Regions from separate parts of the Homo sapiens genome. Here all the other regions are linked to region 4. Evidence: promoter capture Hi-C in 16 types of primary human blood cells and fetal thymus (Javierre and others, 2016). All regions are on one chromosome and are shown on one strand. The core of a region is centred on a gene start or on the middle of the fragment in contact, and the rest is flanking DNA. Distances in the headings are between cores, read along the strand shown. Region 1 overlaps HSD17B6 (hydroxysteroid 17-beta dehydrogenase 6). Region 2 has its middle 61 kb from the start of HSD17B6. Region 3 overlaps PRIM1 (DNA primase subunit 1). Region 4 holds the start of RDH16 (retinol dehydrogenase 16). Region 5 has its middle 2.8 kb from the start of PRIM1. Region 6 has its middle 45 kb from the start of HSD17B6. Region 7 has its middle 28 kb from the start of HSD17B6.

The links. Contacts are between HindIII fragments. The CHiCAGO score rates a contact against its expected background, and 5 or more counts as called.
Region 1: a contact is called between a fragment that was not itself captured here and the fragment with the promoter of RDH16 in region 4, in 15 of 17 cell types (erythroblasts, M1 macrophages, activated CD4 T cells and 12 more). The highest score is 16.0, in erythroblasts.
Region 2: a contact is called between a fragment that was not itself captured here and the fragment with the promoter of RDH16 in region 4, in 9 of 17 cell types (erythroblasts, M0 macrophages, endothelial precursors and 6 more). The highest score is 12.4, in erythroblasts.
Region 3: a contact is called between a fragment that was not itself captured here and the fragment with the promoter of RDH16 in region 4, in 2 of 17 cell types (erythroblasts and endothelial precursors). The highest score is 5.5, in erythroblasts.
Region 5: a contact is called between a fragment that was not itself captured here and the fragment with the promoter of RDH16 in region 4, in 3 of 17 cell types (M1 macrophages, M0 macrophages and M2 macrophages). The highest score is 7.4, in M1 macrophages.
Region 6: a contact is called between a fragment that was not itself captured here and the fragment with the promoter of RDH16 in region 4, in 14 of 17 cell types (erythroblasts, total CD8 T cells, naive CD4 T cells and 11 more). The highest score is 13.1, in erythroblasts.
Region 7: a contact is called between a fragment that was not itself captured here and the fragment with the promoter of RDH16 in region 4, in 1 of 17 cell types (erythroblasts). The highest score is 5.1, in erythroblasts.

What each region holds. Positions count from the first base shown.
Region 1 is chr12:56,769,169-56,772,694 of GRCh38, forward strand. All of the region lies in intron 1 of HSD17B6 (hydroxysteroid 17-beta dehydrogenase 6), which reads left to right. Among named protein-coding and RNA genes, the nearest start is that of HSD17B6, 7.6 kb to the left of the region's middle. The HindIII fragment of the contact is 2,222 bases long and covers 771-2,992 here.
Region 2 is chr12:56,822,584-56,825,985 of GRCh38, forward strand. No RefSeq gene overlaps it. Among named protein-coding and RNA genes, the nearest start is that of HSD17B6, 61 kb to the left of the region's middle. The HindIII fragment of the contact is 1,687 bases long and covers 1,156-2,842 here.
Region 3 is chr12:56,733,494-56,737,009 of GRCh38, forward strand. PRIM1 (DNA primase subunit 1) reads right to left here. Exons shown (of 13, transcript NM_000946.3): 12 at 654-752. Among named protein-coding and RNA genes, the nearest start is that of NACA, 10 kb to the left of the region's middle. The HindIII fragment of the contact is 5,821 bases long and covers 1-3,516 here.
Region 4 is chr12:56,956,173-56,959,304 of GRCh38, forward strand. RDH16 (retinol dehydrogenase 16) reads right to left here and starts at 1,436. Exons shown (of 4, transcript NM_003708.5): 1 at 978-1,436. The coding sequence starts at 1,290. The HindIII fragment of the contact is 6,494 bases long and covers 1-3,132 here.
Region 5 is chr12:56,753,396-56,756,815 of GRCh38, forward strand. No RefSeq gene overlaps it. Among named protein-coding and RNA genes, the nearest start is that of PRIM1, 2.8 kb to the left of the region's middle. The HindIII fragment of the contact is 1,467 bases long and covers 567-2,033 here.
Region 6 is chr12:56,806,324-56,809,709 of GRCh38, forward strand. No RefSeq gene overlaps it. Among named protein-coding and RNA genes, the nearest start is that of HSD17B6, 45 kb to the left of the region's middle. The HindIII fragment of the contact is 223 bases long and covers 1,787-2,009 here.
Region 7 is chr12:56,789,631-56,793,027 of GRCh38, forward strand. No RefSeq gene overlaps it. Among named protein-coding and RNA genes, the nearest start is that of HSD17B6, 28 kb to the left of the region's middle. The HindIII fragment of the contact is 7,319 bases long and covers 1-3,397 here.

The sequences.
Region 1 (3,526 bases), core at 632-3,131, 190 kb before region 4:
CTTGGCTTACTGCAACCTCTGCCTCCCAGGTTTAAGCGATTCTTGTGCCTCCGCCTCCCAAGTAGCTGGGACTACAGGCACTGCCACCACACTCAGCTAATTTTTGTATTTTTAGTAGAGATGGGGCTTAGTCATGTTGCCCAGGCTGGTCTCGAACTCCTGACCTCAGGTGATCTGCCTGCCTCAGCTTCCCAAAGTGCTGGGATTACAGGCGTGAGCCACCGTGCCTGGCCTAGCTTTTCAAGATCTTTGTGGGAGAGTAGCTTCAAGCAATGATGAAGCCCAAGATGGGGATCAGACCTGAAATAAACAGTGGAAGTTCTTAACCTATGCATGTGTGATTATGAAGGTGTTTTCTAGGCTCGACCTCAAAACTCATTAAATAAAATTAACCAGATAGCATAGTGTAGATGAGAAAGGAAGAGACTGACAATATGATGTAAGAAAGCTGAATTCTTATTTACCATAGCAGGAAGTTAATTGAGAATGTCAAAAATTGGTAAATCAAGAAATAGCAGCTTAAGTACTGTGTATAAATAATTTGAGTCAAAGGCAAAAACGTAAAGTAATTGCACAGCTTTTGCAGATGAATGGTTTGTAAAAGCAAGCAGGCCACGCCACTTCGGGTATTTGGACATTTGAAATATTCGAGGCACATTCAGGTTTGGCCTAGGGTTTGGGATTCCGCCAGGTGTATCTCTTCTGCAGGTCTTCTTGCTGCTAGGCATGCGATGGCTGAATAGTAATGCCCGGGGAAACTGTGAGGGCCAAGCTTCTCTCTAATGGGGGAAATACGTTTTCATCTTTGACTGGCAACAGAAAATTACCTTTTAGTCAATAAACAGTCAGGTTGAAGCTCTCTGTGTTACTGTAGTGCACCAGGGAATGCCACTTAGGCAGAACAGAGGCAGCTGGCTAGAGAACACAGAGCTCTCAGATTGGAGAGAGGCAAAGGGCTTCAGAGAAGGAAGGAGAGAGACAGAGGGAAGAGGGGAAAAGGAGAGAAAGAGAAGATGGTGGGGGAGGGAGGAGCAATATATGCCTCTCTCCACTGTTTTCTCCCTTTCACTGTCTCCTTCCACTTTACTTGCCTACACCCTAAGTTGCCCTCTCGCTACTTACTGCCTTCTCTCCTCTCCTTCCCAGACCAGGCTTTTGAAAAAGAGTCTCCACTCGGCTCCACTTCCTGCCCTCCAATTCATGCAGCAGCCCACTGAAGATTGGCTTCTGTGCCCTTCACTGTCTGAGTCTTCCCGTTAAGAGCACCAGTGCCCTCCTATTACCCAGCAGACCTCCTGGTTGCATTGCTGATCCTCATTAAGCCCCCCTTTCCTTGGCTTTCATCAGCTTGCTTTTTCCTACTTCTCTGGCTCATTCTCCCTGCTTTTTTTCTCTCAATTTTTTATCAGGATATTTTTACTTAGTATAACTTAATTTATCTAACATTTATTAAGTATCTGCTATGTGCCATTCACTGGGCCAGGTGCAGACTAATATGTAACCTGGGCTCTCAAGGGCCTTATAGTCTAAAAATGGGGAAGAGCAGTGCAATGAAGTACAGCAGGCATCATGATAAACCCAGGCCACAATGGGGACACTAAGGAGGGTATAGTCAATTCTGTTAGACCATGGGGCAGGTTAAATCAGGGCAGGAAAGTCTCTTGCCTGGACCATTTTTTGTCCCCTCTGTCTAGTACTGTATGTAATCTCTCAGTGCTCACCTATGAAACAGTGTGGCAGCCATTGAGGTGCATTGCTCAGATCACTCAAGAAAATCTGCTATGAGGAGTGAGGTTGACTTCCAGCCTCCAGTTGTGGCACCCTCCGATCTGCTGTGGTATTTACACTGAGGCACGCTCCTCTTGGGCACTGGTCAGCCAATGACCAGAAGGATGGCAGTACTGGAGCTGGACCAGTTCAGCCCAGTGTGGAACTTCTCCAGTGGCAGTCTTTGCTCAGGCTCATGGGCCTGGCTGAGACTTTCTTGGGGCTCTACTACAGTCTAAAGCTCTTCCTATCTTCTCCTCCTTCTGTTCCCCTCTCCTTCCCGAGGTGTCAGATCTGCATTACCACCTATTCCTGTGCCTTCCCCCTTTGTCCTCTGAGGGTGTTTCCCCCATAATCTCTTGCATGTCTAATTTTGTCTTGGTATCTGAACTGACACAGAGGAATAATGATGGGACCTGTCTTGTAGGGTTCTTGTGAGAATTCAAAAAGTTAATATATGTGACATCTTAGAACAGAGCCTGATACACAGCAAGTGCTCGGCAAGGGTTGCAATTTTTTTTTTTTTTTTTTTTTTTTGAGATGGGCAGAATCTCGCTCTGTCACCCAGGCTGGAATGCAATGGCATGATCTCGGCTCACTGCAACCTCCACCTCCCGGGTTCAAGCGATTCTCCTGCCTCAGCCTCCCAAGTAGCTGGGATTACAGGCGCCCACAATCATGCCTGGCTAATTTTTGTATTTTTGTAGAGATGCGGTTTCGCCATGTTGACCAGGCTGATCTCAAACTCCTGACCTCAGGTGATCTGCCTGCCTTGGCCTCCCAACATGCTGAGATTACAGGCATGTGCCAGTGTGCCTGGCCTAGCTATTATTTTTTAATTATCCTTTTGATATGGTTTGGCTTTGTGTCGCTACCCAAATCATATCTTGAATTGTAATTCCTAGGTGTTTAGGGAGGAACCTGGTGGGAGGTGATTGGATCATGGGGGTGGTTTCCCCCATGTTGAGTTCTCATGAGAGCTGATGGTTTTATAAGCGTTTGGTAGTTCCTCTCTTGCTTGCTTTTGCTTTCCTGCCATCATGTGTTTGCTTCCCCTTCTACCATGATTGTAATTTTCCTGAGACCTCCCCAGCCATGTGGAACTGTGAATCAATTAAACCTCTTTTCTTTATAAATTACCCAGTCTCGGGTGGTATCTTTATAGCTGTGTGAAAACGGACTAGTACACCTGTAGATCTCAACTTATATTTTATTCTCTCTAGGAAGCTTCTCAGACCTCTCTAAACTGCCTTAGAAGCCTCTCCTGAGTGTTCCAGCAGCCTCCTGTTTTTACTTCTGTTATAATGCATTGTTGTCAGTCTTCATAATGAGACTGTGAATTCAATGAAAAATGGACTATGTATTGTTCACTCTTGTGTATCAGTGCCTAACACTGTGTCTGACTCAAGTAGTTGTTGAATTAATGTTTGCTGAATGAAAGTGATGATTAGGCTGAGACTTAAAAGATGAGTGTTATGGCTGGGTGTGGTGGCTCATGCCTGTAATCCCAGCATTTTGGGAGGCCAAGGTGGGTGGATCACCTGAGGTCAGGAGTTCACGACTAGCCTGGCCAACATGGTAAAAAACTCTCTCCCTACTAAAAATACAAAATTAGCCCGGCTTGGTGGCACGTGCCTGTAATCCCAGCTACTCGGGAGGCTGAGGCAAGGAGAATCACTTGAACCCAGGAGGCGGAGGTTGCAGTGAGCTGAGATTGCGCCATTGCACTCCAGCCTGGGCAAAAAGAGTGAAACTCTGT
Region 2 (3,402 bases), core at 749-3,248, 130 kb before region 4:
TAAAAGAGGAAAGCCTCTTGCAGTTGAGATAGAGGAAGGCCACTGTCTCCTGCCTGCCCCTGGGAACTGAATGTCTCGGTATAAAACCCGATTGTACATTTGTTCAATTCTGAGATGAGAGAAAAACCGCCCTATGGTGGGAGGCAAGACATGTTTGCAGCAATGCTGCCTTGTTTTTCTTTACTCCGCTGAGATGTTTGGGTGGAGAGAAACAAATCTGGCCTACGTGCACATCCAGGCATAGTACCTTCCCTTGAACTTAATTATGACATAGATTCTTTTGCTCACATGTTTTTTGCTGACCTTCTCCTTATTATCACCCTGCTCTCCTACTACATTCCTTTTTGCTGAAATAATGAAAATAATAATCAATAAAAGCTGAGGGAACTCAGAGACCGGTGCCGGTGCAGGTCCTTGGTATGCTGAGCGCCGTTCCCCTGGGCCCACTGTTGTTTCTCTATACTTTGTCTCTGTGTCTTATTTCTTTTCTCAGTCTCTCGTCCCACCCAACTAGAAATACCCACAGTTGTGGAGGGGAAAGTCACCCCTTCACTTTTCTTTTCTTTTCTTTCTTTTTCCTTCCTTCCTTTTTCTTTCTTTTCTTTCTTTTTTTTTTTTTTTGACGGAGTCTTGTTCTGTCACCCAGGCTGGAGTGCAATGGCGCTATCTCGGCTCACTGCAACCTCCACCTCCCAGGTTCAAGCAATCCTCTTGCCTCAGCCTCCCGAGTATCTGGGATTACAGGCGTGTGCCACCACGCCCAGCTAGTTTTTGTATTATTAGTAGAGATGGGGTTTCACCATGTTGGCCAGGCTGGTCTCGAACTCCTGATCTCAGGTGATCCACCTGCCTCAGCCTCCCAAAGTGCTGGGATTACAGGCCTGAGCCACCGTGCCCGGCCCAGAACAATTTTCATATAATCTATTGACTTGCCTGCCCTAAGACAAAGGCCGTTGTTTTGAGGTAGCCTTAGTTTACTTTCCAAGTTCCATCTGCTTTTCCACTGGAGTTCAGAGGTCTTTCATGGCCAGCCCATTCTGCCATCCATGACCTTTGATGGAGCCTGTTCTCAGCTCAAGGCAATCTCCAGAAACTGAAGAACATGACCTTTCTAAATGCAAGTAAGAATTCGTCAAAGAAACTTGTGCTGGTTAAAGCTTAAGATAACCGGATAGCCAATAAATTCAGAGATAGAGGCATGACTACTTGGGACAGGCTTTTAAGAAAACTGTGATTATATTTCTTTGGCAAAATTAAAACTTGATGGAAACTCAGGGAACATTTTGTCTAACCTAGATAATAAAAGCAAAGTCATATCTTTTCCTTGTTTAAATGACATGGGGGGGGGCTGGGTTGGATGAGAGTGAACTGGGAGGACACAGAGATCTGTATTTGGAACATGAGAAAATGTGCTAGGCAATCTGAAACAATATTGATCATTACTCTTTTAGCTACATCTTATAAGTTGATTACTTTTTACAGAAATAGAATTTTGTCTAGACTATTGGATAAGCTCTAGGAAAAAAAGTTGATTTCCCACATGAATGCTTGGGATCATCAATTTTCATTTATGCTTTTGATCAAATACTATTTGGCTAATACATTCATAGGGTCCTCTAGTTTTCCCAACCTTTTTATCTATCCCGACTAAGAAATACAGAGTGCCTTGACCACTCTGTGACCTGGCCAGTTGCATGTTTTTTTGCAGGGTTAAGTCAGGTCCTTGAACATTCCCAGGCTCTGGTAAACATGTTTAGGTTGTTGTCCAGAACACTGAAAGAAACTAGCCCCAGCCCTTAACCAAACTCCTCAAACCCTCATATAAACTCCATAACACAACCCCCTTATTGCAGACATAGCTAGGTGGAACATCTCTTTCGCTTGCTGTTGAGAGGATTCCTGCAGCCCCTTTTGTAAGTAAGTTCCCCTGATAAATACTTTAGACTAATTACCCTGGTGTTTAGTGCTTCTCTCTTTGGAATCTCAACCAGCCCCATCTCCAAATGGTTTACAGATAATCCTTCTTGGGAATTTCCCTGCTACAGACTTTGGGGCTCCAGTTTTGGTTTCGGCCTGGACAAAACAACACTGCAGGAATAGTTTAAGGTATTTGCCTTTTGTGATAGTGTCCATTATAATATTATTTTCTTATTACTATTAATTTTTTTTTTTTTAGAGGCAGAGTCATCCAGGCTTCAGTGCAGCAGTGGCGATCACAGCTCACTGCAGCCTCAAACTCCTGGGCTTAAGTGATCTGCTCACCTCAGCCTCCTGAGCAGATGGGACTACAGGTGTACTACCACATCTGACTAATTTAAAATTTTTTTTATAGAGATGGTGTCTCCCTCTGTTGCCCAGGCTGGTCTCAAACTTCAGGGCTCTAGGGATCCTCCTGCCTTGGCCTCTCAAAGTGTTGGGAGTACAGGTGTGAGCCACTGCACTTGGCCTATTATTACTATTATAATTATTTTTCAACCACCTGGTAAATTTGCGAGGGTTGTTTTGTTAAGTAAATAAATCAAAATCTTCCCTGGAAATTTAAGGGAGAAATGTCGAGGAAGAAGTTCATGTCATTTGAGGATAATTGGCTGCACAGTTACTCTTTTGCAGAGGAAGGCATGTGTTTGTGATGGACATAGCAGCTGTCAATATGCCCCCACTATCAGAGGGTATACCAAACCTGCAAACTCTTTGTTTCGGCAGCAAAATATATTAACAAAAATTCAGGAGTGGACAGAAGTTTCTAATTTTGATGTAGTCCAATGTGTCCATTTTTTTTCCTCTTGTTGCCTGTGCTTTCAGTGTCATATCCAAGAAATCACTGCCAAATCCAACGTCATGAAGCTTTCTCCCTGTTTTTTTGTTTTTTGAGACAGGGTCTTGCTCTGTTGCCCAGGTTGGAGTGCAGTGGCATGATCAGAGCTCACTGCAACCTCTGCCTCCTGGGCTCAAACAATCCTCCCTCCTCAGCCTCCCTAGTAGCTGGAACTACAGGTGCATGCCACCATGCCTGGCTAATTTTTGTATTTTTTGTAGAGATGGGGTCTTGCCATGTTGCCCAGGCAGGTCTCCAATTCCTGGGCTCAAGTGATCCACCTGCTGTGGCCTCCCAAAGTGTTGGGACTACATGTGTGAGCCACCACACTCGGCCATCTCCCTGTATTTTCTTCTAGGAGTTTTATAGTTTTAGTTCTTAAATTTAGGTCTTTGATCTATTTTGAGTTAATTTTTGCATATAGTGTAAGGTACAGGTCTAACTTCATTCTTTTGCAGGTGAATATTCAGTTTTCCCGTTACCATTTGTTGAAAAGATTGTCCTTTCCCCATTGAATGGTCTTGGCACCCTCGTTAAAAATCATTTGACCATATATGCAAGGGTTTATTTCTGTGTTATCTATTCTA
Region 3 (3,516 bases), core at 759-3,258, 220 kb before region 4:
GAGTTCAGATACCACCATTTTCATATGAAATCTCAGAGTCCATCAGATAAAATCTCTTTCTTAGCATTTTGTACTTTTTTTTTTGTATTAAGTTAGTACTTCTTTTTTTTTTTTGAGATGGAGTCTTGCTCTGTTGCCCAGGCTGGAGTGCGATGGTGTGATCTCAGCTCACTGCAACCTCTGCCTCCCCGGTTCAAGCGATTCTCATGTCTCGGCCTCCTGAGTAGCTGGGATTACAGGTGCCTGCCACCACGCCCAGCTAATTTTTTGTATTTTTAGTAGAAACAGGGTTTCACCATGTTGGCCAGGCTGGTCTCGAACTCCTGACCTCAAGTGATCCAACTGCCTTGGTCTCCCAAAGTGCTGGGATTACAGGCGTGAGCCACCGTGCCTGGCCAAGTTAGTACTTCTTAAGGGCAAGGAGGCATGATGTTAATTCATCTTTGTCTCCCTTATAGACCTGATACTTAGAATGTGTTTAATAACTATGTGTTAAATTGAATTAAGGAACCTCAATTTCCAAAACATTAAGGATAGTAAGATAAATCTGTAAATTTTGGGAGGAGGGCAAAGAAAGACTAGAACTCAAAAATTGCTCATTTCTACTAATAATAAGATCTAACTAGATAGAAGGGAAAGGCATAGCGTCTTACCACTCTTCTTAAGAAGTTCTCCTTTTCGGGATTTATCCAGATTTTCAAGAAAATGTTCAAAAACTTTCACATAAGGTGCTAGACTGGTCTTCTTATAATCTAAATTATGAAGAATGTACATTATAATTAGCATACTGGCAGCAAGAATAACATGAAAACACAACTAAGTTTCTTATAAGAATTCTCTAGGGCTGCCCAATTGAAATATGAGAGAAACATACATACTTTTAAATACTATATTAGTCACATTAAAAAAGGTGAAATTATTACTGAGACAGGATTTCACTCTGTCATGCAGACTGAAGTACAGTGGTTCCGTCTTGGCTCACTGCAGCCTCGATCTACTGGGCTCAAGGGATCTTCCCATCTCTGCTTCCTGAGTAGCTATAACTACAGGCATGTACCACCATGCCCAACCAATTTTTTTTTTTTTTTTGGTATTTGTAGAGACGAGGTCTCACTCTGTTGCTCAGGCTAGTCTTGAACTCCTGAGCTCGAGTGATCTCCCAGCCTCGGCCTCTGAAAGTGCTGGGATTACAGACACATGCCACCATGCCCAGCTAAAATATTATTTTTGCATGTAATAAAAATTGAGATATATGATACTCTCTTTCATACAAGTCTTTTATATTTATATATATATATATAATATATATACATATATTTTCTTTTTTTTTTTTTTTGAGACAGAGTGTCACTCTGTTGCCCAGGCTGGAGTGCAATGGTGCGATCTCGGCTTACTGCAACTTCCGCCTCCCAGGTTCAAGCAATTCTCCTACCTCAGCCTCCCGACTAGCTGGGATTATAGGTGCCCGCCACCACAATGAGCTAATTTTTTGTATTTTTAGTAGAGATAGGGTTTCACCATGTTGGCCAGGCTGGTCTCAAACTCCTGACCTCATGATTCACCCACTTTGGCCTCCCAAAGTGCTGGGATTACAGGCGTGAGCCACCGCGCCCGGTCCATGCCTTTATTTTTGAGTCTTGCTCTGTTGCCAGGCTGGTATGCAGTGGTGCAATCTTGGCTCGGGAACCTCCGCCTCCCGAGTTCAAGCGATTCTCCTGCCTCAGCCTCCTGAGTAGCTGGGACTATAGGTGTGTGCCACCATGCCCGGCTAAGTTTTTGTATTTTTAGTAGAGACGGGGTTTCACCATGCTGTCCAAGATGGTTTTGATCTCTTGACCTCGTGATCCACCTGCCTCAGTCTCCCAAAGTGCTGGGATTACAGGCGTGAGCCACCGTGCCCGGCCCCATGTCTTATTTTTGAGACACTGTCTTGCTTTTTTGCCCAGGCTAGAATGCAGTGGTGCAATTGCAGCTCACTGCAGCTTTGACTTCCCTGGCTTAAATGATCCTCCCACCTCAGCCTCCCAAGTAGCTGGGATCACAGGGAGTGCCACCACAGCTGGCTAATTTTTTATTTTTAGTAGAGACAAGGTCTTGTGTTGCTCAGGCTCTGGTCACGCCCTTTTGGAGATTATTAGAAGTTTTTACATTGAGTATTCTTGTTTTTTTTTTTTTGAGATGGAGTCTTGCTCTGTCTCCCAGGCTGGAGTGCAGTGGGGCAATCTCGGCTTATTGCAACCTCCACCTCCTGGGTTCAAGCGATTCTTCTGCCTCAGCCTCCCGAGTAGCTAGGATTATAGGCGCCCGCCACGACGCCCAGATAATTTTTGTATTTTTAGTAAAGATGGGGTTTCGCCATGTTGGCCAGGCTGGTCTTGAACTCCTGACCTCAGGTGATCCACCCGCCTCAGGCTCCCAAAGTGCTGGGCCTACAGGCATCAGCCACTACGCCTGGCCTGCATTAAGTATTCTTTGATTTATAAAATAGTTTAAAAAATGTATACAACAAAAAATTTAATATAGGCAGGGTGCGGTGGCTCATGCCTATAATCCCAGCACTTTGGGAGGCCGAGGCAGGTGGATTACGTGAGGTCGTGAGTTCGAGACCAGCCTGACCAACATGGAGAAACCCTGTCTCTAGTAAAAATACAAAAATTAGCTGGACGTCGTGGCGGGCACCTGTAACTCCAGCTACTCAGGAGGCTGAGGCAGGAGAATTGCTTGAACCCAGGAGGCGGAGGTTGCAATGAGCTGAGATTGCACCATTGCACACCAGCCTGGGTGACAGAGTAAGACTCTTTCTCTAAAAAAAAAAAAAAAAAAAAAAAAAAAAAGAATATACAATTTTATTCATCCATTTAATTATATAACCTATAATGATACCCAATGGGAAAATATGATTGAGAATAAGAAAGGAGTTTCACATAAAATTTGGATTTTAGTAGTATCCTACGTTTGCATGGAATTAAGAATCCTCATAATAGTTCTTTAAAAAGAGTAAGAAAGAAATTATACTTTTTTTTTTTTTGAGACGAAGTCTCACTCTGTTTCCCAGGCTGGAGTGCAGTGGCGCAACTTCAGCTCCCTGCAACCTCTGCCTCCCGGGCTCAAGTGATTCTTGTGCCTCAGCCTCCTGAATAGCTGGGACTACAGGTGTGCACCACCATGCCTGGCTAATTTTTGTATTTTTAGTAGAGACGGGGTTTAACCGTGTTGGCCAGGCTGGTCCCAAACTCCTGACCTCAGGTGATCCACCCACCTTGACCTCCCAGAGTGCTGGGATTACAGGCGTGAGCTACTGCGCCCGGCCACATAATTTTCATTTTGAGACAAGGTCTCTCTCTGACACCCAGGCTGGAGTACAGTGGTGTGGTCAAGGCTTACTGCAGCCTTAACCTCCTGGGCTCAAACAGCCTCTTGAGTAGCTGAGACCACAGGTGCCTGCCAGCATGTCTAGCTAAATTTTTTTTTTTGGAGAGACAGGGTCTCTCTGTGTTGCCCAGGGTGGTCTCAAAC
Region 4 (3,132 bases), core at 186-2,685:
CAATACTCACACTTACAGAGACGTTGGCAAATAAAAGTCCACCAAGATGACATTTATGATGAATAAAAAGCAGGAAGGAATTTCATATCCAACCACTCAGTATGGATTACATAGGTAAGGCTATTGGAAGGATACAGTATTCTAAATAATTAAATATAATTTTATAAAAACAGTCATTATGGTGGAAAAGTGTTCATCTTCTCCAGAGAATTTAAGGTGACTGAAACTAAGAACAAAATATAAAATCCTAATTTTGTATAATTGTAAAAAGGACTTATGTGTGGATGACAATTTCAGGGAAACTTGTTTTCATCTTTATTCTTTTCAGTGTTTTCCACAAAGATCATATTCTGATTTATTGTTACATAAAATAAATCCATGTTTCTTTCTTCCTCTATAATAAGACAGATGAATTAGTGTAGTGAAAAGAAGAAAGAAAGAAAAAGTAACCCCTTACTAGTTCTGCCTTCCTTAAGCAGTCCTTAAGCTGATACTCTCCTCTGAAGATGGAGATGATCGTAGCTCTCAGTGGACGCTGATGGGCCCTAGCAAAAACAAGGTAAAGTGCTGGGAACATAAGCCTGGCTCCAGCACAGGCACAGCCTCCGTGCACACTTGCAGCCCTGTGCTCCCTTCTCAACGATGCTCCAGCAAGTCTCCAGATCTCTAACCCAGGCTCTTAGCATCAAACAACACATGACTTCTGCTTAGACAGGAGGGAGAGGATAGAGAGGAATTCTGGAGAGAAAATCTCATCAGGGCAAACTCTCCCCAAGACTAGACACCTCCAATGTCGGGAGAGGTTAAGGATTGAAAAGAGATGGGGTTCAGGCAGCCTGTTAAGTGAGAAATATTAGAAAGCTACTGTTACTTCAACCTGGAAAGACACTGTAGGAATCTTCCCAGGGAGCAGACAGGAGGTGGTCCCTTCACACAGAGGGAAGACACAGACAGACTTGACAAACCTGGGTGGTTACCTTTGTCTCTCACGCACTCCTTCACCCACTGGGCGGCTGCAGCAACGCTCTCTGTCTTGGTAACATCCAGGGTCACCGTCTCCAGCCTGTCTGAAGTCTGGCCCCTCAGCTGCTCGGCTCCTTTCTCCGTCAGACATGCAGCCAGCACCCGCAAGCCTCGTGCATCCAGCTGTCTGGCCAGCAGTTTCCCGAAGCCAGAGTCACAGCCCGTGATGAACACATACTTATCTCTCAGGTGGCTCAGCACCTGCCTCTCCCGGTACCAGTGCAGAAGGTAGTACAGGCCCACGAAAACCGCCAGGTAGAGCCACATGGCTTTGCAGAGGACAGACACAGACAGGCTGTGGGGGAAACCAGAGTCTGGCCTCTGTTCAGACAGGAGGATTTAAGAACACAGAGGGCTGTGGTAGGCAGGGAAGCCCTCAGGCATTTTGGCAGGGAATCCTCACTTTCCTCCCTGATGACTGCCTTTCTGCAACATATTTATTCTGGCCCCACCTCTCTGCTCTTTGAACTGCTTTTGCAGTACTCATGCACACCTTTGCACACCTCAAGTCCTGCCCAGTAGGAAGATACTATCTTCCTACTGGGCAATGTGCCCCTAGTCTCCTGATTTCTCTCTGCCTTGCTATGCCCACTACATGCATGCTGTGTCCATGAAGGAGCACACACATATATTCACACAGGAACATACACAGAACTCACACAGGCTTACACACAGCTGCCCACACACACTCTCCATGGCAAACACACCCCTCTGCTCTAAGTACAGGGGTCAAAACTGTCTCTACAAAGCTCCGATACCAACACTCCTGGTCCATGACCTTCTGAACATAGAAAGGCCTTATTGGGTAGCTACCCATGGTTTCCAGGCACATTAGGTGGAAATCCCTCTCTGAGCCTGAGTTTCCTCATCCTGCTCCGCACCCCAGAATCAATCACTCCTCTGAAAACTAGGGCACGGTCAGGCTGTCTAGGATGAGAAGGAGAAGGCAAAGAGTGAGCAGGAACAGGTTCCCTCCTGCTATAATAGTTTTTTGGGGCAGAAGGATTGCAGGATCCCACAGGGAGAATCCAACCTCAGAGGTAAAGAAAGCAGGGAGAGGATGGGCAAATAGGAACAGCTCCGGTCTGCAGCTCCCAGTGTGACTGATGCAGAAAATGGGTGATTTCTGCATTTCCAGCTGAGGTACCTGGTTCATCTCACTGGGACTGGTTGGACAGTGCGTGCAGCCCACAGAGGGTGAGCCGAAGCAAGGCAGGGCATTGCCTTACCCAGGAAGTGTAAGAGGTCAGGGGATTTCCCTTTCCTAGACAAGGGAAGCCGTGACAGACTGTACCTGGAAAAACAAGACACTCCTGCTCAAATACTGCACTTTTCCAATGGTCTTAGCAAATGGCACACCAGGAGATTATATCCTGTGCCTGGTTTGGTGGGTCCCATTCCCACAGAGCTTTGCTCACTGCTAGTGCAGTAGTCTGAGATCAACCTGCAAGGCAGCAGCCTGGCAGGAGGAGGGTTGCTCACCATTGCTGAGGCTTGAGTAGGAAAGCAAAGCAGCTGGGCAGCTCAAACTGGGCGAAGCCCACTGCAGCAAGGCAAGGCTTTCTGCCTCTATAGACTCCACCTCTGGGAGCAGTGCATAACTGAACAAAAGGCAGCAGAAACCTCTGCAGACTTAAACATCCCTGTCTGACAGCACTGAAGAGAGCAGTGGTTCTCCCAGCATGGTGTTTGAGCTCTTAGAACAGACAGACTGCCTTCTCAAATGGGTCCCTGAACCCTGTGTAGACTAACTGGGAGACACCTCCCAGTAGGGGCCGACTGACATCTCATACAGGTGGGTGCCCCTCTGGGACGAAGTTTCCAGAGGAAGGATCAGGCAACAATATTTGCTGTTCTGCAATATTTGCTGTTCTGCAGCCTCTGCTGGTGATACCCAGGCAAACAGGGACTGGAGTGGACCTCCAGCAAACTCCAACAGACCTGCAGCTGAGGAAACTGTTTGAAGGAAAACTAACAAACAGAAAGAAATAGCTCAAAATCAACAAAAAGGACATCCACACCAAAACCCCATCTGTAGGTCGCCAACATCAAACACCAAAGGTAGATAAAACCACAAAGATGGGGAGATACCAGAGCAGAAAATCTGAA
Region 5 (3,420 bases), core at 50-2,549, 200 kb before region 4:
ATGTGGAAATAAATAACCAAATGAGAAAAGCATAGGCTATTTATTCAGAGCTTACTATAGCAAGGGAGTCAGCCATCATCACTTGCATTTGACAGGACTCAAAGGCAGGCAGAGGAGTAGGAAAGCTTTATAAAAAAGGGAAGCCGTCAAGGTATTCTTTGATTGGAGGCTGTTGGCATGGAGAAGCTGTACCTGGGCTAACTAGTAGTAGGATGCGGTATGTGATTGGTTTAGGGGTGGGTGTTTGGCTTTCTTTGGTTGGACCTATGTTGGAAGCTGTTAAGGAAGCTGTAGGATACTAGTTAAGGCATTTGGGCCCATTGCTACAGGGGTTGTTGTTTGGCCTCCAGGATCATCATTAGAGATAGCAGTTTGACTTTATACAAGTCTGACTTGTAGCAAGCTTGCTTCCTGTGCTGTTTATTATAGATAAGGGGGTTGGTTTCCCCAGCAGGTTGCTGTAGATTGTGGGTCAGAGTTCTGTTTTTATATATGGTCTGGCTGCTGTTCATATATTTAGTCTCTCAAATAGAACACCCAGGTATAAGAAAATATGAATTATAGGAAGCTTGCAGAATCATGGAGAGCTTTACAAGTATGAAGGGAACCCATCTGCTATTGATGTGGAGATCTGCCAATCACTCTTACTGTGTAATGATACCTTATGGCAATTGTGGGCTAGAGTGGGCAGTCACATGAATAACATGTCACATGAAAAACATAGTTTTATTTTATTTTACTTATTTTTTTGAGACAGAGTCTCGCTGTGTCGCCCAGGTTGGAATGCAGTGGCACAATCATGGCTCACTGCAACCTTGGTCACCCAGGCTCAAGCAATTCTCATGCCTCAGCCTCCCAAATAGCTAGGATTACAGGTGTGCACTGCCACACCCAGCTAACTTTTGTATTTTTAGTAGAGACAGGGTTTCACTATGTTGGCCAGGCTGGTCTCAAACTCCTGGCCTCAAGTGATCCACCTGCTTTGGCCTCCTAAAGTGCTGGGATTACTTGTGTGAGCCACTACCTCTAGCCTTGTCTAGCACTTTTATCTTATGGAGATGGCTTCTCTCCTTAAACCTCATGAACCAACTTCTGCTGGCTTCAAACTTCTGCAGCTTTCTCACCTGTCTCAGCTTTCATATAATTAAAGAGAGTAACCTTGCTATGGGTGAGGCTTTGGCTTAAGGGAAGTTATGGCTGGTTTGATCTTCTATTCAGCACACTAAAAGTTTCTCCATATCAGCAATAAGGCTGTTTCACCTTCCTATCATTTGTGTGTTCCCTGAAGTAGCACTTGTAATTTTCTTCAGGAACTTTTCCGGGAAGGAACTTTTCCAGGCCAGGCCTGATAGCTTACACCTGTAATCCCAGCTCTTTGGGAGGCCAAGGTGGGCAGATCGCTTGAGTCAGGGAGTTCAAGACCAGTTTGGGCAACATGGCAAAACCCTGTCTCTACCAAACCAAACCAAACAAACAAAAAAGCCCAGAAAAATTAACAGGGTGTGGTGGCATGCATCTGTGGCCTCAGCTGCTCAGGAGGCTGAGGTGGGAGGATCACTTGAGTCAGACAGGCAGAGGTTGCAGTGAGCCAGTATCGTGCCATTACACTCCAGCCTGGGTGACAGAGTAACACTCTGTCTCAAATTTAAGGCCGAGTGCAGTGGCTCACGCCTGTAATGCCAGCACTTTGGGAGGCCAAGGTGGGAGGATTGCCTGAGTCCAGGAGTTTGAGACCAGCCTGGGCAACATAGCGAGACCTCATCTCTACAAAAACTACAAAAATTAGCCAGGTGTGGTGGCGCAGGCCTGTGGTGCCAGCTACTTGGGAGGCTGGGGTGGGAGGATCACCTGAGCCCAGGAGGCGGAGGGTGCAGTGAGCCAAGATTAGGGCACTGCACTCCAACCTGGGCAACAGACTGAGACCTGTCTCAAAAAAACAGAACTTTTCCTTCGTATTTACAACTTGGCTAATTGCTTGGTGCAAGGGGCCTAGGTTTTGGTCTGTCTCAGCTTTCAACATTCCTTTCTCACTAAGCTTAATCATTTCTACGTTTTGATTTAAAGTGAGAGATGTGGGGCTCTTTTTGTCACTTGAATACTTAGAGGTCATTGTAGGGTTGTTAATTGGCTTAGTTTCAATATTGTTGTGTCTTAGGGAATAGGGAGGCCTGAGGAGAGGGAGAGAGAGAGGAGAACAGCATATTGGCAGAACAGTCAGAACACACACAACATTTATTGATTAAGTTTGTCTTCTTATATAGGCACAGTTCGTTGCACCCCCAAACAATTACAATAGTACCTCAAAGATCACTGATCACGGATCACCGTAACAGATACAATAATAATGAAAAAGTTTGAAATATTGCAAGGATTACCAAAATGTGACATAGAGACATGAAGCAAACACATGCTGTTGGAAAAATTGCACTAATAGACTCACTGTATGTAGGGTTGCCACAAAGCTTCAATGTGTAAAAAATGCAATATCTTTGGAGCATAATAAAGTGAAGCACAATAAAATGAGGTATTCCTGTATATAGCTTTTGCCATGATGTCAGGTACCATTTTATGAATTTATCCCTCATGAGAACTCTATGCGGTAGTTGCCAACATCATCCCTATTTTCTTTTTCTTTTCTTTTCTTTTTTTTGAGACGGAGTCTTTTTCAGTCGCCCAGGCTGGAGTGCAGTGACGCGATCTTGGCTTACTGCAAGCTCCGTCTCCTGGGTTCACGCTATTCTCCTGCCTCAGTCTCCTGAGTGGCTGGGACTACAGGTGTCCGCCACCACGCCCGGCTAATTTTTTTTGTATTTTTTTAGTAGAGATGGGGTTTCACCATGTTAGCCAGGATGGTCTCGATCTCCTGACCTTGTGATCCACCCGCCTCAGCCTCCCAAAGTGCTGGGATTACAGGCGTGAGCCACCACGCCTAGCCTCTTTTTTTTTTTTTTTTTTTTTTTAACGCTTTTCCTGTTTGGAAGGAAAAAGTGCAGCTCGCTGCCAGCAGTCATTTAATTTTACATAAGCATGCTCTTTGAGGCTGAAACAAATCTGACTGATTTCCAATGTGAAAATAAAATATAAAAACTGTTCTTGGAGTTCTTTCTCTCTCTCTCTCTCTTTCTTTCTTTCTCTTTCTTTTTCTTTCTCTCTCTCTCTCTCTCTTTCTCTCTCTTTCTTTCTTTTGAGGTAGAGTCCCGCTCAGTCGCCCAGGCTGGAATGCAGTGGTGCAATCTCGGCTCACTGCACCCTCTGCCTCCCAGGCTCGAGCCATTCTCCTGCCTCAGCCTCCTGAGTAGCTGGGATTACAGGTGCCTGCCCACATGCCCGGCTAATTTGTGTATTTTTAGTAGAGATGGGGTTTCACCATGTTGGCCAGTCTGGTCTTGAACTCCTGACCTGAGGCGACCCACCCACCTC
Region 6 (3,386 bases), core at 648-3,147, 150 kb before region 4:
GCTCCAGAGTCCAGAAGGAGGTCAACCCTCCTTCCCTTGATGCCCAGAATCACCTGGGGCTCCTGGGTGGCAATGGTAGTCTGAACAACCGGAGCTGGGGAGAGGAGCCCCAGAGCCTGTCAGTCCCGCTGCACTATAAGGGAGGCCGGCCCTGGACCGGGTGACCCGTGTCTCCAGGGATAGTCCGCCCTCTAATTGTCCTCATCACAAACTGGACAGGGTCGAGGTGGCCTCCCCACACTGTCCAGACAGTCCCTCCTAAAATGACCTGGCCTGCCACATTTGCAGTAGTCAACAGGTGCATATCAGGGACTCTGGGGTCCATGAGCCCACAGAGCAGCTATTAGAGCCTCTGCCTTTTTCCTGTATCTCCCCTCTTTTCTGGACTTCCTCCCAGTTCCCACTGCAAAAGACCAACGTGGCTCCTACCAGGAAGCCCTCCAAAGTACCATCTGGTCCCACAGCCCGTTTCTGCTGCCCCCTCCTGACATCAGGGGCCACCTGTGTGATAAAGTCAGTGCCTAGGACCAGCTATTCTGCTACTGAATCAGGAGATAGAGAGGTGTGTTTTACCAAGGCCCCTCCCTCTTAGCCTTTCCAGGAAGCCAGTGGGATTCTCATCAAATCCCTATTCTACCATGAATAGGTTGGTGTAATTCAGGGCCTTAGTCCTTGTCCTTCATAAGCCCTCCGGTATACACACCTGAAAGTGTTTCCTCTTCTATTCTCCTATTTCATCATTGGGGTCCAATTTTCAACCTCCAATGGTACTGCTATTTTTCCAATCAGATAAGTCTCATACCCTTTCCTGGTCCTATATAAGATATAAAGCTCATTGGCCAGGCACAGTGACTCACGCCTGTAATCCCAGCACTTTGGGAAGCTGAGGCAGGTGGATCATGAGGTCAGGAGATCGAGACCATCCTGGCTAACATGGTGAAACCCTGTCTCTACTAAAAATACAAAAAATTAGCCGGGCATGGTGGTGGGCACCTGTAGTCCCAGATACTCAGGAGGCTGAGGCAGGAGAATGGTGTGAACCTGGGAGGTGGAGCTTGCAGTGAGCTGAGATTGCACCACTGCACTCCAGCCTGGGTGACAGAGTGAGACTCCGTCTTTAAAAAAAAAAAAAAAAAAAAAAAAAAAAAAAATATATATATATATATATATATATATATATATATATATGGCTCATTCCCCAAATTCTCTGCCACTTGCAGGGTGGCCTGCTTTTCAGCGGTGGTCAGGGTTTGATTCAAAAGTAACATGAGGCTTGGTGCAGTGGCTCACACTTGTAATCCCAGCACTTTTGGAGGCCAAGGCAGGCAGATCATCTGAGGTCAGGAGGTTGAGACCAGCCTGGCCAACATGGTGAAACCTGTCTCTACTAAAAATACAAAAATTAGCCGGTTATGGTGGTGGACACCTGTAATACCAGCTACTCAGGAGGCTGAGGCATTGCCTGAATCTGGGAGGCAGAGGTTGCAGTGAGCTGAGATCACGCTATTGCACTCCAGCCTGGGTGACAGAGTGAGACTCTGTCTCAAAAAAAAACAAGTAACATGACATCCTTCCAGGAGAGCTCAAATACTTTGGTTAAGTTCTGGAAAGCCCCTATATACCTGTTAGAGCTGTCTAAAAACTTGCCAAGATCCCCCTTAATTTGCCTTAAGTCCTGTAGAGAAAAGGGAACCTGGACCTTAATGGGGCCATATTCACCAGGCATCTGTTGTAGGGGCAGTTGTGACTGGGACCTGCCTAAAATGAGGATTTCTAGGCTGGGCCAAGCTTGAGAGAAAACAGTGGAGGGGGTTGATTCCCCCACTGGAGGTACCTCTGGGGTTTGCTTCCCTATTTCCCTGGGATTGCCCTTTGCAGGCTCTCCTGAGATGGCCATGAGGTGAGCTGATTCAATCCTACCACATCAGCAAAGGTTTGGATTACCCTGCAAGGCAAAAAAGGCCTGCATGTATGGGACCTTGGACCATTTGCCCTTGCATTTACAGAAAAGCTTCCTTCCTGGGGCCATGCTTCTTTTCTGTGCCTCAAGGTTCTTGGCACTAAATTGGCAACCAAGGAAATGACAAGAACATTTTCACCACAAATTTATGTACAGATACCAAGGCCCACTTTGCTTCATCTGTGCTACTCTTAACCTTCCATTTTATACTTTTGAAGACTAAGCCAAATGCTTATTCTACCCAGTAATATTTCTGGTTTGCAACAACATCCTTAACATTCGACGTTGTATATAAAGTAGAGATAGGAACTTTGACAGCCGTGAAAGAAAGAAAGAGTGGGAAAGAAAGAAAGATAGGAAAGATGGGAGGTTCTAGTGGCAACACCCTAATGGGCAGTCGGGGACTGGAGTTAGTCCAGGGGCCTTTGGATAACGAGGCGAAGCCTCAGCCAGATACTCTGAGTTGCCCCACAACCTCCTTTGTCTTCCACCCAGTGGCTAGACCTCCATGAAAGGAAACCGGGTTGGAATAAAGCCAACATTCCCAAAACCTGAGGGTGATGGGGGATTGACAGTGTCCTCCCCAGCGAGCCTGTCCTCTGTGTCTTAAGTCCAGCAGCCACACTAGTTGCTTTTAACTGGCTGACAGAGGCTGGCATTTTTCTTTCATTTTAGCTATTGTGGAATTTAGGGACTCCAAAAAAGGACAGAAAGAGCAGATCTGCTTTTACTTACCCTTCCACAGATCCTGGATGAGCCCCCAAAATATTACAGGATCTTTGGGGTGTTGTTTTTCTCACTGGAAACCTCTGTGGCTGGCGGTGCCTTTGCCTGAGTTTTGCTTGGGCCTGCTGGGCTCATTTTGTCCACTTGGCCCAGCAGGCTGTTTTCAGCTTACGTTACTGGCCTGGTTCCCATGCCTGCTAAGGGTGAGTCAGGTGCGGAATGGCGTAGGGTGTATGAGCAAGCATGGGGTCTGACCAGTGTGCACAGTCAGACATGCCAGCTGCTTCAGTGGGCCAGGCAGCTTCAGGTGCTGGCATGGGCACTGGCTCTCTGCTAGGCTAAGGCTGGACCAGGTGCACCGCAAGCAGCTTCCATGGCTGGCGCCAGGGAATATGGTGGTGGCTGGAAGCTTGGAGATGCCAGGAACTGCAGGGCCCCAAAGAAGGAATCACGGGCCAGTCTTGGGGAGCTCCCAGGTCTGGGATCCCCAAAGGGCTGCAGCTCTTCTTTCCTTCTCTTTGCCTGCAACATGGAGAGCAAGGGGGAAGCATGTCTCAGCCCTGTTTGTGTTACAGCTCTTTTAGCCTCACCATTCAGTGGGTCCCAAGTTCTTGTACTGAGACCAGGAAGAATGAGGTACGTAGATAAGTGGAGGGTGAACAAGACAAAGAGGAGCTTTATTGAGCAATATAACATCTCA
Region 7 (3,397 bases), core at 694-3,193, 170 kb before region 4:
GGCCGGGCAGAGGCACCCCTCACCTCCCGGACGGGGCGGCTGGCCGGGCGGAGGCGCCCCCCCCACCTCCCTCCCGGACGGGGCGGCAGGCCGGGCGGGGGCTGACCCCCCACCTCCCTCCTGGATGGGGTGGCTGCCGGGCGGAGATGCTCCTCACTTCCCAGACGGGGTGGCTGCTGGGCGGAGGGGCTCCTCACTTCTCAGACGGGGCGGCTGCCGGGCGGAGGGGCTCCTCACTTCTCAGACGGGGCGGCCGGGCAGAGACGCTCCTCACCTCCCAGACAGGGTCGCCGCCGGGCAGAGGTGCTCCTCACATCCCAGACGGGGTGGCGGGGCAGAGGTGCTCCCCACATCTCGGACGATGGGCGGCAGGGCAGAGACGCTCCTCACTTCCTAGATGGGATGGCGGCCGGGAAGAGGCGCACCTCACTTTCCAGACTGGGCAGCCAGGCAGAGGGGCTCCTCACATCCCAGACGATGGGCGGCCAGGCAGAGACGCTCCTCACTTCCCAGACGGGGTGGCGGCCAGGCAGAGGCTGCAATCTCGGCACTTTGGGAGGCCAAGGCAGGCGGCTGGGAGGTGGAGGTTGCAGCGAGCCGAGATCACGCCACTGCACTCCAGCCTGGGCATCATTGAGCACTGAGTGAACGAGACTCCGTCTGCAATCCCGGCACCTTGGGAGGCCGAGGCTGGCGGATCACTCGCGGTTAGGACCTGGAGACCAGCCCGGCCAACACAGCGAAACCCCATCTCCACCAAAAAAATATGAAAAGCAATCAGGCGTGGCGGCGCCCGCCTGCAATCGCAGGCACTTGGCAGGCTGAGGCAGGAGAATCAGGCAGGGAGGTTGCAGTGAGCCAAGATGGCAGCAGTACAGTCCAGCTTCAGCTTGGCATCAGAGGGAGACCATGGAAAGAGAGGGAGAGGGAGACTGTGGGAAGGGAGAGGGAGAGGGAGAGGGAGAGGGAGAGGTCTCACTGCTTTCTCCTCCTGTTTCTGTGTGGGCTGGCTGTTCTCTGGTTCTGCTACTCAATTATTTTTCTAGGACTTCCCTACATCTCTTTCCTGCTGTCTGAAATCCTGCTTCCTGGAGCATATGGCCTCTTGGTTTTCTCCTTTATTTTAACAGAACTCATTCTTACTAGCTAAGTCTTTGCATGTTTAAAAAGGTCTCTGTTGGCCGGGCGCGGTGGCTCACAGCTGTAATCCCAGCACTTTGGGAGGCTGAGGAGGGCGGATCACGAGGTCAGGAGATCGAGACCATCCTGGCTAACACAGTGAAACCCCCGTCTCTACTAAAAATACAAAAAGTTAGCCGGGTGTGGTGGCAGGCGCCTGTAGTCCCAGCTGCTTGGGAGGCTGAGGCAGGAGAATGGCGTGAACCCGGGAGGTGGAGATTGCAGTGAGCCAAGATCGCGCCGCGGCACTCCAGCCTGGGCGACAGAGTGAGACTCTGTCTCAAAAAAAAAAAAAAAAAGATCTCTGTTGGCCAGGCGTGCTCTGTTGGCCAGTCATGGTGGCTCACGCCTGTAATCCCAGCACTTTGGGAGGCCAAGCTGGGTGGATCACCTGCAGTTAGGAGTTCGAGACCAGCCTGACCAACATGGTGAAACCTCATCTTACTAAAAATACAAAAATTAGCTGGGTGTAGTGGTGGGCACCTGAAATCCAGCTACTCTGGAGGCTGAGGCAGGAGAATCGCTTGAGCCCGGGAGGTGGAGGTTGCAGTGAGCCGAGATCGCACCACTGCACTCCAGGCTGAGTGAGAGGGTGAGACTCCGTCTCAAAAAAAAAAAAAAAAGAGAAAAGGTCTCTGTTCTTATAATAGATTAGCTGAGCATGGACTTCTAGGGTTGAAAATAATTTTCTTTCAGGATTTTAAAGACATTGCTTCACTTTCTTATCGTATCCATTAAGAACCTTAATGCCATTCTGATTCTTGTTCCTTTGTTCCTTTTTGTCCCTATTCTATGGAAGGTTTTAGGCTCTATTTAGAAGATAAGTACATAAATGTTTATTTTATTTGGAATCTTTATCTTTTATTGCAGGTGTTCCAAAACTTCACAATGATGGACATAGGGGTAGCTCTTCTATTCAGTTATTGTACTGGGTACTTAGTACAAGTCATGATGTAGGAGAGAGATTGGAGAATTGCTAAAATGATGGCAAGGAGGTTGAGAGAGGATTCAGTTTGGTGCATAAGTGGGAGAACGGGCTTCAAATAGCATGACTTAAGTAAGAGTTTGTTTTCTTAGGCCAGGCACGGTGGCTCACGCCTGTAATCTACCACTTTGGGATGCTGAGGTGGGGGTGGATTACCTGTGGTCAGGAGTTTGAGACCAGCTTGGCCAACATGGCAAACCCTGTCTCTACTAAAAATACGAAAATTGGCCAGGTGCGGTGGCTCACTCCTGTAATCCCAGCACTTTGGGAGGCCGAGGTGGGCGGATCACTAGGTCAGGAGTTCGAGAACAGTATGGCCAACAAGGTGAAACCCCGTCTCCACTAAAACTACAAAAATTAACCAGGCATGGTGGCAGGTGCCTGTAATCTAGCTGCTTGGGAGGCTGAGGCAGGAGAATCACTTGAACCTGGGAGGCAGAGGTTGCAGTGAGCTGAGATCGTGCCACAGCACTCCAGCCTGGGTGACAGAGTGAGACTTCGTCTCAACAACAACAACAACAAAACAAAAAAATTAGCCAGGGGTGGTGGTACACACCTGTAATCCCAGCTAATCAGGAGGCTGATGCATGAGAATCGCTTGAACCTGGGAGATGGAGTTTGCAGTGAGCTGAGATCACAACACTGCACTCCAGCCTGGGTGACAGAGCAAGACCCTGTCTCAAAAAAAAAAAAAGAAAAAAGTTTGTTAGGTAATAGTAAATTAGCGGATAGGAGGTCACTGGCATTGCTTCAGTAACTCATCTCTGTCAGGATTAAACTCTATGTGCATCTTCTGGCCTTTTCTTCCAGCTTGTCACTTCAAGGTTGTAAGATGGTTGCTGCGGATCCAGACATCACTTTCAAGTGACACCATATAAGTCAACCTAAATAACAAAGGGAGGCTCTCTGAAAGAAAAAGACATTTATTTGGGAATAGAGTATTGCAATGAGAATATACCCGTCATAGTAAACTACGTGCATATTCAGGGAGGTAAAGGAAGACAAAGGTTTTTAAAGAAAAGAGGGAAATTGCACAATTGTTTTAAAATAATTATATTTGGCTACAAAGATCAATAACAAGGATGATGTCAGTCCAGGTTGGACAGGCAGTTCTGGGGCAGATGTTCTTGCAGTGTTTTTTATGGAAATTTCTGGTGGCTTCTGTGCAAGGATATGATTTTTCCAGAGTCTTTTTTGTGAGGCATACAAGCATAAAGAACCTTCTCTTCATGG